Linked DNA regions of Homo sapiens: region 2 is linked to region 1. The links are contacts of gene promoters, found by promoter capture Hi-C in human tissues and cell types (Jung and others, 2019). All regions are on one chromosome and are shown on one strand. The core of a region is centred on a gene start or on the middle of the fragment in contact, and the rest is flanking DNA. Distances in the headings are between cores, read along the strand shown. Region 1 holds the start of PCYOX1L (prenylcysteine oxidase 1 like). Region 2 overlaps CARMN (cardiac mesoderm enhancer-associated non-coding RNA).

Evidence for each region. The method cuts DNA at HindIII sites, captures the fragments that hold promoters and counts their contacts. A contact is called where the count stands out against the background at its distance.
Region 2: a contact is called between a fragment that was not itself captured here and the fragment with the promoter of PCYOX1L in region 1, in 1 of the 25 tissues and cell types used here (adrenal gland).

What each region holds. Positions count from the first base shown.
Region 1 is chr5:149,355,104-149,361,311 of GRCh38, reverse strand. It overlaps PCYOX1L (prenylcysteine oxidase 1 like), which reads right to left and starts at 3,266. Exons shown (of 6, transcript NM_024028.4): 1 at 3,156-3,266. The coding sequence starts at 3,243. GRPEL2-AS1 (GRPEL2 antisense RNA 1) reads left to right here and starts at 3,670. Exons shown (of 2, transcript NR_132366.1): 1 at 3,670-3,787. RefSeq lists silencers at 3,027-3,236, 3,257-3,416, 3,437-3,486 and an enhancer at 3,212-3,506. The HindIII fragment of the contact is 6,206 bases long and covers 1-5,305 here.
Region 2 is chr5:149,414,876-149,421,083 of GRCh38, reverse strand. All of the region lies in intron 1 of CARMN (cardiac mesoderm enhancer-associated non-coding RNA), which reads right to left. Among named protein-coding and RNA genes, the nearest start is that of MIR143, 11 kb to the left of the region's middle. RefSeq lists a cis regulatory region at 3,970 and enhancers at 3,886-4,055, 4,432-4,601. The HindIII fragment of the contact is 5,140 bases long and covers 1,353-6,208 here.

The DNA.
Region 1 (6,208 bases), core at 2,017-4,516:
CAAACCTCCCAGGCTCCCAAGTAGCTGAGACTACAGGCACATGCCACCATGCCCGACATATTTTTCGTAGAGATGAGGTTTCACCATGTTGCCCAGGCTGGTCTTGAACTCCTGAGCTCAAGTGATCCTCCTGCCTTGGCCTCCCCAAGTGCTGGAATTACAGGCATTAGCCACTGTGCCTCACCTGACACTAATCATTAAACAGTCCTGTGAGAGAACTATAAACCAGCTATGAAGCTACTGAACTGGACTACCACCCTACCTATAATTTTTGCTCACCATGTATCTGAAACACCACTCTCTTCTCATCAGACAGTCCAGAGGCCTTACCCCAAAAGAAAATTAAATAAATCTGGTGTAATTTGTCCTTACTGGACCCATTTGGACCCACAGAGTACCAGTTCCTGCCAGAAGTCACAGGCAATCCTCAGACAGCACCAGGTTCTCTATGATCTGGCCTCTGCTTACTTATTCCATTTCCTGCTTTACCCTCCCAAGATGCCACCTTCTTGTCTGTCTAGGCTTCTCTTATTGTGGGCACATAGCTTTGTTCTCTCATGCCTGGGCCTTTGTCCGAGCTGTTCCCTTTGATAGGAGTGCCATCACCCTGTGTCTCACTGGCTTCAACAGCCCTCAGATGTCACCTATAACTTGGCTTGACTGACCCACCTGAGGTGAGTCAGGTGTTCCTCCTGCATATTCCCACAGCACACTCTGCTTAGCCGTACTGTAGTCAAGTTATTTAAGGACAGAGAGAGAGTGCATGATCACTATGTCCCCAGATCCTGGTGGACAGTAGAGTTCATGAAGTATTTTTTCTGTGTTGAAAGAATAAACCACTTCCTCTCACAGTACTTACAAAGCCACTTCCAAGACAGCTTTGGATTTTATTTTAACCAGTGTGCTCCCATCCCCTCCATGTGCAAAGAGTCCCAAATTACCCATTTTTCCAGAGAAATTGATATTAAGGCCTAGAAGCTGCCCAAGATCAGGAAGCAGAAGACACCACTTCATTGTGAACCAGCTCATTTAACACAACTGACACCAATTCTCTAATTTACAGTAAGATGTCCTGGGGCACAAAGAAAAATCAAACAGGCTTCTGTCCCCCAGGACCCCAGCATGGAATGGGCAGACAGACTCCTGCGCAATTAGCAACGACAACCCATGATGAAGTGCAACAGGGTTCCAGGGAGTCCTGAAGGGGAAGCAGTGAATTCTGCCCCAGAGGGTGTGGGGACACAGCCTTCTTGGGGAAATAAGATTTCATGCAAGATGCTGGAGGACAATCAGCTTTGTCAGTGAGAGGACACGCACACTCTGCAAAGAGACCAGCATGAGAAGGGCAGCATATGGAACTATATGGGTGGGTTTAGAGGGTCCTGATGCCACTTGGGGGTTCTCAGATTTGGTCCTGCAGAAGCACAAGCATTAAGCCATCCTAACAGGAATCCGCATTCTTGTTGTGGGTAGAGTCCAAACCACCAAGGATGAACAGAGGCTCCCGTCAGAGGGCTGAGGAAAATCTAGAAAGCTGAAGGGCAGTGAGGCATTGCCAAGTGTCCTGCTCTGGATGACTCTTGGATGGGGCCAGAAGGGCCAGCTGGGAGGAAGGAGGCAGAGAGCTCCATGTTGCCACAATGCAGCAATTCTGCTGGGTGGAGGTCCTGCTCCTTCCCCAATGGTGAGAAATGTCCTGTCCTGTTGCCTGTTCCTAAGAAAACGGGGAGTGCCCTGCATATTCCCACAGCACACTCTGCTTACTCCTAGCCACACTGTATTCAAACGATCTAAGGACAGAGAGAGAACACATGGTCACTCATGGATACTGCCTGCCTAACTCTTCCACATCCTTCAATGCCTGGCTCAAACTCCACCTTCTCCATGAGGGCTTCTCTGGCTACTCTAGCCTCAGGATTCTCTTTTCTTGGCAAGCACTAAACTCTCAGTCTCAAACTGGTTTCTGGCATGCTTCAGTCTTCTTAACCCTGTATGGCCTGGGCTGTGGTTCTGCTACACAAGAAGCTTTAGCACTGCACTGGACCCTGTAAGTTTGTGATGCTTCTATCAGATGTTCCAGGCACTCCTGCCAACTGGGGTGCATGGAGAGTGGCCTAGCGGAATAGAGTCTTTGTCCTCCCACCCCGAAGCCCAGGATCTCTGCCTGTGGGAATATCACGTGTGAGGGACTTGAAAATCTTCACGAGTCATGTAGTTAAAATGACAGTTGTTGAGGGAGGAAAAAAAAAAGCAACTGTAAACACATATGACACTCTAGTCAATGATATGCACGATGACGTATTTAGTGAGGTGTCCTGATGTCTGCAATTTATTTGGAGATGCATCAAAATGTAGGCTGGATTCGTGGATGTCTAGAACAGTGCGTGATAGTTATGTGACACAGCAAGTATAGCAGCAGTTAATGGCAGAATGTAGGTGGTGGGTATACAGATGACCACTATAAAATTCTTGCTGTACATCTGAACATTTTCAAAATAAAGTATTGGGGAAACCACACACACAATAAACAAAAAGACTGTTGTTAAAAGTTCCCCGTTCTGTCAGCAAATCTCCAGCGGACCTAGTGTTCTGTCTCTGCCAGGACTGTCTCCTATCGACCTGGGGGTGGTTTGGCTTAGATGTTACTTCCAGGAAGCCCTCCCAGGGCCGCAAAGACAGGGTGAAGCGCCCCTCCTCTGCATGCACCGTACTTCCTCAGCTCAGCACGGACTTCCCTGTACTGTGAGGGCTCTACCCCAGCAGGAACTACAGCACCACGTCTGCTACACAGAGAGCCCTCAACCAACCTCTGTGAATGCCATCGCCCAGCCTCTCTGTCCTCTGTCACCCGGGCGCCTAGCCAACAGCCAGGACCATGGCAGATGCTCAGCGACCCTGGACCTCCCGGTGAGATCCGCGGCCAGTCCTGCCCAGGCCTCTTTTCCGTCCTAGGTGGCCCTCTTCACATGCCATGCCCCGGCCCCATCAGGACCTTCCCTGCCGCGTCCCCTTCGGCGCCTCTCCTCCACCCAGCTCCTTTTCCGAGGACCCCTCCCTCACCCAGCCGCCCTCCTATACCCCACCTAGCTGAGAACTGAGAACCCTTTACCCGCCGGCCCTCCCCAGCTGGGAACCCCACCGCGTCCTTCCCGCACCGATTTTGCCCGGCGGGGCATCTCCGCCAGCAGCGGCGGCGGCGAGGAGCGCGGTCAACGCGGCGAGCAGCGGGGCTGCGCGGGCCATGGCGGGCGGCGAGCGGGCAGCACGCCGGATTCAGGCGCTAGCGGGTTGGCGCTCGGCTCTCCGCCCCGCCCCGGCGCCCCACTGGCAGTCCCGCCTTCCTGCCGCGCCAGACCCAGCTCCGCATTGGCCAAGCCGCCGTCCCTCTCCAGCACGAGGCCCTCATTAGCTCCATCTCTCTCGGGGTAGGCTCTCTCATTGGCAGCTTCCCCGTTCCGCCCCGCCCCCCGCATGCGGGCTCCTCATTGGCTGGGTTCATTCTTGCCCGGCGCAGGTGTGCCCGCTTCGGGTCCTCAGCATCAGGACCAGGGCCCAGCTGCGGCAGAGGGATGAAACAGACCAAAGTGAAGCTTTGAAGACCTCGGTTATGTCCAGCCTCTGCGTTATTAGCTCTGTATCTTCTCTGTGTCTGTTTCCTCTATTATAACACAGACGAAGAATCCTGCTCCACCTTTCTAGGTGGTTGTAACCATCTTATGAGATAAGGGAAGCCTTTTGCAGTGTCTGCAAGTGCTGGAAATTGCTGACCAAGCATGCGGCCAGGGTGGTAAGACGCTACCTCATTCATATGCTGACACAAGCCCTATGCTTTCTATACTGCTGTTATTTATGTGTTTGCAGTTTTTATATAGTTAATATCTCTGCTTTCTGCTTCCTAAAAACCAAAAGGCGGGGGAAGGTTTCATCTACTCTCTTTTCAGAAAGGAGAAAAGGAGGGATAAACTCCCATTTTCATCCTCTAAGAAGACAAGAGCAGCAGCTCAGACTTGCTAGTTTATCACGCTGTGAAAAACAGACTTCCTCTGGCAGAAAATAAAGTTAGGGATGAGTTTCAGAATAAAGAAAATCCGGAGGCTGGGGGTGGCTCAAGCCTGTAATCCCAGCATTTTGGAAGGTCAGGCGGGAGGATCGCTTAGGCCAGCAGTTTGAGACCAGCCTGGGCAACATAATGAGACTCTGAGACCCCGTCTCTTAAAAAAAAAAAATTCGCCAGGAGTGGTGGTGCACACCTGTAGTCCTAGCTATTCAGGAGGCAGAGGTGGGAGGCTTGAGACCGGTAGTTTGAGGTTACAGTGTTCTATGATTGTGCCACTGCACTCCAGCCTGAGTGACAAGAGTCCCTGTCTTTAAAAATAAATAAATATATAAAAATAAATGAAATCCATATTTACTCAGTGAGATTATGGCTAAAATAAGAAACTGGGCCGGGCACAGTGGCTCATGCCTGTAATCCCAGCAGTTTGGGAGGCCGAGGTGGGCAGATCACTTGAGGTCAGGAGTTCGAGACCAGCTCGGCCATCATGGTGAAACCTCATCTCTGCTAAAATGCAAAAATTAGCTGGGCTTGGTGGTGTGCGCCTGTAATCCCAGCTACTCGGGAGGCTGGGGCAGGAGAATCGCTTGAACCTGGGAGGCACATGTTGCAGTGAGCCGAGATTGTACCACTGCACTCCACCGTGGGTGACAGAGCGAGACTCTGACTCAAACAAAAACAAAAACAAAAAACTGAAGTGATTCAGAGAATGGTGAAAGAGCTTATAGCTGGGGTTCTAACTCAGCACTGAGACTTAATTTACTTGGGCCAAACTGGATTACTACTAGTAAACTGGTAGATGAATAATCATGCATTTGTCATAATCTTAAACTTTTTTTTTTGGCAATGTTTGTGTCAGGATGCAACACCTTTTAAGTTCATTTCCAAAGGTTCAAGATACTCCCTTAAACAGTTTTTAAAACAAGCACTCATTGACCACTATGTGCCAAATTCTCTTATGAACTTATTCTGATTCTTGTCATTTTTTTGTAGGGTAAATCATGTTAGTGTTCAAATTCATCTTCTTGACTATACTTTGCTTGTAATTTTAGGGTCCTTTGTAACTCTTAAATCTAGAGCTGTTTTTTTCTGTTAGGAAGCCCTTCCAACCCTACTAGCCCATTGACAATGTGTGCGCTCATCAACATTGTAAGAGAGGTTCGAAAGAGCTGATAAGGGAAAAGCAAGTAGGCACAATTCTTGTGGCACAAAGGTGCCAGACTGGGAATGCAGTGGGGTGACTGTATCATTTTATCTGCTGTTGTGTAACAAACCATTAAAAAATGTAGTGGCTTAAAGTAACAGTCATCTGTTTTGCTCACACTACACCTCAGGCAGGACTCAGTGAGATCAGCTCATCTGTTCCATGTGGTATCATTTGGGGCTGCTCCACTGGGTGTGGGAGGATCCACCTTCAAGATGGCTCACTGGCTGGCAAGACAGTGCTGGCTCAGCTGAAAGCTCAACCAGGGCCCTCAGTTCCATTCCACAGGCTACTTCAGTTTGCTCTTGGCACGATGGTAAGGTTCCAGGGGTGAGCATCCCAAGACAGGAAGTGGGGATACCAGTTTCTTAAGATCTGGGTCCAGAAAATGGCAGTGTCACTTCCACTGTATTCTATTGGTCAAGCAATCACAAAGCTCCAAGGAAACTCAAGAATGGACATGGGCCCTACTCAACAAAGGTGTCAAGAAATTCTGGAGCCATGTTTTAAAACTACAGTGAACTTGAGAGCATGGACATCTGAGTGGATAGGAATAAGAATATACTCACTGACTAGCACTGGGAATATGGGACACATGGTTTATGGAGCTACAGTGTACAGACAGTATTGGAAAGATAATGAAAACGCAAGACCAAATCCCAGGGAAGGCTGGCCCAACAGAGGGCCATTCAGCCAGGAGTCTAGGTATATGGAAGCTAGCTGAGAAGCAGAGGTAAAGACAAGGCCAGGCAGTCACAAGGTGGGAAGGACATGGGGAAGCTGAAGGTCAGAACAAGGCCAAGTGTCTGTAATCTGGTTAGGAGAATAGTCAGCAGTAGTCAAAGGAAATAAGACACCTAGAACCAAAAGGCGAACCCAAGAAAACAAGTCAATGCCAGAAAAGAAGGCAGAAATAGGGCTGGGAACAGTGGCTCAGGCCTGTGAGCCCA
Region 2 (6,208 bases), core at 2,673-5,172, 59 kb before region 1:
GGATTAAATCGAAACCTGGGGTTAACATGATGACCAAGACCAAAGGGACAGGCTTGTGGCTGTCTTTGACCCCTTCCGTGTACACAAAGCTTTCAGCCTTCAAAACACTCCCGTAACTCAAGGCACATTCGCTGATGTCGCCAGAGGCAGGAATAATTCTTCCCCTTTCTGAAGTTCCAGGAGCCTGTGCGATTTGCCCAGGGTCACCTGTGGAACAGCTTGAGAGGCAGACTTGAACCCAGGCTCCTGATGCTCAATCCAGCTTTCTCTTGGGTGTGGGCAGTGGCCGGCTGGATGACCACACGTCAAAGCTATCATCGCCACGGTCGTTGCGAAAGCCCCTGTGCCCTTTCCTGGACTTTCTCATTTCCAAGAAACACGAGGGGCTGGGAATGGGCCACATCTGCGAGCCAGATGGCACCTCAGTGAGAGAGGGCTGAGGCCAGGGCTCCAGGCAAGCTCACGAACCCATGCTCACACCCAGCTCTTTCTGGAGGGACCTCTTTGCCCACGGTTCCCCTGTCTCAGCGCACTCAAACCTGTGCACTTGTTACAGCCGTTGCTCTCCTTGGGCTCCAGGGCCGTAGGGTTTCCACCACATGTCTGGAAAGAAAAGACACAGGCCTTGGAGTCATGCAGACCTGTGTTTGAATCTCGCCTCTAGCACTTCCTGGCTGTGTGATCTAAAGCCGGTGTCTTCACCTCTCTGAGCCTGTTTCCGACCTCACAGCCTTGTTTGTGAAGGTCAAATGAGGCAGATGTCAAGTGCGAGCATATTTCCAGGCACATCATAAACCTATGATAAATGGCTGCCATTTCTATTATTAGCATGGGGCTGGGGCCATAGCAAAGCCCAACCATGGGAGGAACAGCAGAAGCAGGGAGAGAGCAAAGGTCTGAAGAGGCATCTGGGGAAGCTGTGGGAGCCCTTGCGTGGCCCTTTCCATGTCCCCTTTGTCGCACAGCTTCCCTGGGCCTCTGTTCCCAGAGTGCCCTCCCACCCCCTTGACACCCCAGCTGAGTTCACCAACCTCACACGCTCCCCACTTCCTCCCCAGGGAGGGTCGCTCTGGGGAGTTTTGAGCAAGCTCTGGGAACGCAGTTTGAGGCTGAAACAAGAGCATTGCAGGGAAAAGGGAAGAGAGGAAAAAAAAAAGACCTGCCCAGCCTAGAATCCCAAGCCTTGCCTCGAGCAGCTCAGGCCCTGCGGGCAGGTGGGGCATAGACACCAGGATCCCTGTGAGTCTCTGTCACTTGGCCCCTCGGTGAGGGCAGAAACTGGGAAAAGAGTGACAAAGGTAAGAACCATCACCTGTCCGGCTGACTGTGCAATAGGCACATTGGGACACGCTGTAATCATAATGAGAGCTCACATGTCATTGGGTGCTTCTGATGCACCCCACACTTGCCAAGTGCTTTATTTTACACAGCTTTTCTCATCTGATCCTCAAAGTCACTTATGAGTTAAGTACCAATAATTTTCTTTTCTTTTTTTTTTTTTTAAAGAGACAGGGTCTCACTCTCCAGGACCTTGCTTTCCAGGGCAACACCTATTGCCCAGGCTGGAGTGCAGTGGCACAGCCAGCTCACTGTAACCTTGAACTCCTGGCTCAAGCGATCCTCCTGCCTCAGCCTCCTGAGCAGCTGGGACCACAGTCACATGCCACCATGCCCAGCTAATTTTTTATTTGTTAATTTTTTGTAGAGATGGGGTCTTGCTATGTTGCCCAGGCTGGTCGTGAACTCCTGGCTTCAAGTGATCCTCCTGCCTTGTCCTCCTGAAGCACTGGGATTAGAGGCATGAGCCACTGTGCCTGGCTGAATTAGGTACCATTCTTTTAATTTTTCTTTTCTTTACTCAGAGATCCTTGTTTTGAAGAATTAGGTACCATTCTTATCTCCACTTTACTGAGGCGCCAGTGGTCACAGCACTCCCTCCTGGTTACACAGCTAGTAAAGATTGGCTCCAGGCAGCCCCACACACATTCTCACGGCTCCCTTGTAAGACCAACTGCTCATCGTATCATTTTTACAGAGTGATAACCGGAGTCATTATCTCTTGGCAATATTTAGGTGTGTGTTAGTCTTTCTGGAGAGGGGTTTGTGAACAGAGAAAGCATTGTTAGTATAAGTGAAGACCATCTGAACCCTGGAAAGCCATCTGTCTCCAGAAGCAAGGGGGCTTCTCCTTTTGGTGGTGGTGTTCTGCCTCTTTCCTGTGGTATTTTTCTCTTCTGTGCTGCTTGTTAAAAGAAATTCACATCATGTTAAAGGCATTGGTTCTCGGCGGGGTGCAGTGGCTGACAACTGTAATCCCAGCACTTTGGGAGGCCAAGGCTGGTGGATCACCTGAGGTCAGAAGTTTGAGACCAGCCTGGGCAACACGGCGAAACCCTATCTCTACTAAAAATACAAAAATTAGCTGGGCGCAGCGGTGCGTACCTGTAATCCCAGCTACTTGGGAGGCTGAGGCAGGAGAATTGCTTGAATCCCTGGGTTACGGAAGTTGCAGTGAGCCGAGATCACACCACTGCACTACAGACTGGGTGACAGAATGAGACTCTGTCTCAAAAAAAAAAAAAAAAAGGCATTGGTTCTCCCTCTGTCCTATAAGCTTTGCAAAGAGCATGGACCTCCAGGGTTCCAGGGGCTTCGCTGGGACTAGGCAATGCTTTCTAGAAAATACAAATGTTGGTTTCTTCTGGAATGTGTTGGGTGGGAGGAGCAGCAGGCTAGGTACCCGGTTTTCTGTAGATTTGCTGTGTGATTGTGGACAAGGGTATTCCCCTCTCTGAGCCTCAAGGGCCCACACCTACATGATGTGGTGGGGACACGACTGGACTCTAGAGTGTCCAGAGTCCTTCTAGATCAGACACGGAGGGACAATCTGACCCCACCCCATTCCTCGGTGTGAATGTGGGTGTGAATGCCGGTGAATGGCCGGCATAGATCTCCATGGAGCGAGAGAGAAACTGGTGCATCAAGGAATGAGGATGGCACTCCCTCATTGCCTCCCACTCCCTTGCCCCCATCCTACCCTTCATTTCTCAGCCCCAAAGTAGGCCCCAGTGACCTGGACCAGATGGATTTTCTGCACCAGGACTTGAAGTCTTGGAACATCAGTGCTGGAAGCACTCTAGTCTTGCACCCATTGTTCAGATGAGGAAACTGAGGCATGGAGAGGAGAAGCAAGGAACTCAAAGTGATTTAGCCAGTCACAGGTCCAGCTGGGACTCCAGCAAATGTCCTGACCTCTTCTGCTCACTGGGGGATCCTGATCGGCCAAATACTAAACAAAGGGGCCTCGGGAGGAAGGTGGAGAGAAGAGAGCCTTTAAGTTCCTTTTGCTTTGAAGATGGAATAATCATGACTTCCTTCTCCAAATATCTTTTGGCCCTTCCTAGAACCAGATGGCGGATGTTTGGAATTTATGTTGTAAATAGTGCTTAAGAAGGGGTGGGAGTGCAGATGTGTTACTTTCTTCCACCACCAGAAACGAGATCTGAGGGAGAGAAGTGGGGGAGGGAAGCTGACTATGAAAAGATTTTGGGAGAAGGAAGAAGTGAGGGGGAAGGAAGACAGAACAGCGATGTGAGATGGGAGGAGAGGGAGCGAAAATGGAAGAGAGATGGATGGAGTGAGACTGACAGCAAGACAGAGAGGAAGAGAAAGGGAAAGGAGAGAGCGATGGGAGAAGGAGGAGGAAGAAAGATGGGGAGGGGGCTCTCAGGGTGCAGGCGCAGAGACGCCCCTCTTGAGTTCAGGAGCAAACCCTTGAGTTTTCTAAAAATAGCTCAGTCTTTCCCCTAGCAGGGTTGGCAGCAGGGACCAAGAGAGGCACGCTTGCCCTTTTATGGTAAGAAAAAGTCCAGATCCTCAGAGGGGGAGCTAGGCTGGAGCCTGTAATTCTGGATGAAGTCCAGCCTCAGGGTCTGGGGTGGGACAGGGCTGAATGAGGGGGGAAGACTTAGTGGGATTTCCTGGCCTGAGTGGCCCTACCCTTGGGGAAGATAGGGCTGAGGTAGGTGTTGGCATGGGCCTCCCAGGAAAGCACTGGGGTCCTGGTAGATCCTTAGTGTTATGGCAGAAAGTCTAGAGACATTTGGTCCACGCTGTGTCTCTGTTTTATTTTGTTTTGTTTTGTTTTGTTTTCGAGACGGAGTCTCACTTTGTCCCCCAGGCTGGAGTGCAGTGGCGCGATCTCAGCTCACTGCGACCTCCGCCTCCCAGGTTCTAGCAATTCTCTTGCCTCAGCCTCCTGAGTAGTTGGCATTACAGGCGCCTGCCACCACGCCTGGCTAATTTTAGTACAGACAGGGTTTCGCCATGTTGGCCGGGCTGGTCTTGAACTCCTGACCTCAGGTGATCCGCCCTCCTTGGCCTCCCAAAGTGCTGGGATTACAAGCATGAGCCACCGCACCTGGCTGTCTCTGTTTTATAGAAGAAGAAACTGAGTCCCAGCCAGGGGAAGAGATTATAGCTCCCTGTGTGGGGGTGTAAGCCACCAAGCTAAATCGATGCCGGGGTCCACACGAGGACAGCTTATGTGCCTGTTATTCTGGAGAGCAGTGTGGTCAGTGGCAAGAACACTGTTGGGAGCCAGGAAACCCAAGGCCCATTCCCAGTTTGCTGTGTGACCTTGAGCCATCTGTGGACCCTCTCTGGTCTCAGCTTTCCTTACTGGGGTGATCTTAAGGGTTTTCTTAGCTTTTTGTCTCTCTGGGAATTTCATAGCTAGAAAGCAAAGCCTGGGCATAGAAGATGCTGCTATGAGGTGAAGGGGAATCCAAGAGCTGCTATTTTCTTTCTGTGCCTGGCTCACTTCCTGTGCTGAGCTGGGCAGGTAAAATCTAGAATGGACTGAGACTGATGGAGAGGAGTCCTTGCAGGAGACAGGAGATCATGGCTGGAATCCCCTACTGCCCAGCTGGTTGGGTCTAGACTCTTTTTTTTTTGGAAAGAGTCTTGCTCTGTCACCCAGGCTGGAGTGCAGTGGCGCGATCTTGGCTCACTGCAACCTCCACCTCCTGGGTTCAAGTGATTCTCCTGCCTTAGCCTCCTGAGTAGCTGGGATTACAGGCATGCACCACCACACCTGGCTAATTTTTTGTATTTTTAGTGGAGGGGGTTTCACCAAGTTGGTCAGGCTCGTCTCAAACTCCTGACCTCATGATCCGCCTGCCTTGGCCTCCCAAAGTGCTGGGATTATAGGAGTGAGCCACCAGGCCTGGCCGGGTCTAGCCTCTCGCTGGACACACTGAGGCCAGAGGAAGCTGCATGTTCAAGGTCGCGTTGAAGGTCATATGAAGAGTTAGGGCACAGCCAGGAATAGAACCAAGGGTTTCCATTCCCAGCCTTGGGCTCTTTCTTCTGCAGGAGGCCAACAGCATTGGAGACCATCTCTGGCCATTCAAAGGGACCTCCTGGGCAGAGCAGCCAGAACTCAAGATAGGCTGCCATCCTCTAACTATCTCTTGGAGATAGTTGCATCCTGCCTGGGCACCGCCTCTCCTCTGTCCCCTGCCCTTGGCTGTGAAGAGTGTACCATAGTCTCCATCTTTGGCTAGAAGGCAGAGAAGAAGCAAAGGATGTGGTCACTCTGGCAGCATATTTTGGCAAGTCTCTCCCTGTCATTGGGCCTCAGTTTCTGCATCTATAACATGAGGAGATAGGCCCTGATGCTCTTTAAGGTCCCTCAGCTCTAAAAGGACTATGATGCAATGAGTATGGGATTTAACACCAGGAATATTTATTAATCATCTACCAGGGGCGCCAGAGGGAATGAGATGGATATTGTATGACTGAGCTCTGCAGTCAGTGTGAGGTGGGGGCACATTGCCTGAGATTCCTGGAAGCCCCATTTCCAAGATCCTTCTGTCTTTATTCTAGAAAGCCCTGGGCTGACTCTCTGACCCCAGCTTGAACCCAGGTTCTGGCAGCTCTGGTCTTGAGCATCTAGGGAAGGCTGCTGGCCCAGGCGATGTAGTTGCCCACTGCTCCAGGACCCTCACAGGCGGTTTGGCCATGCCCTTGACTTCTTGGTCCTCTCCATCCTCTCCCACACTGCTGTCCACTGCCCCAAGCCCTGTCTGGTGGGCCTCCCAATCTACCCCATACCCTCCGTCTCTCCATGCTCTTTCTGTGACTCAGCCCAAGAGGATGCTTGCTTTCCTTTCCCAGACTTCTATGACACCCCCACCGACCATGA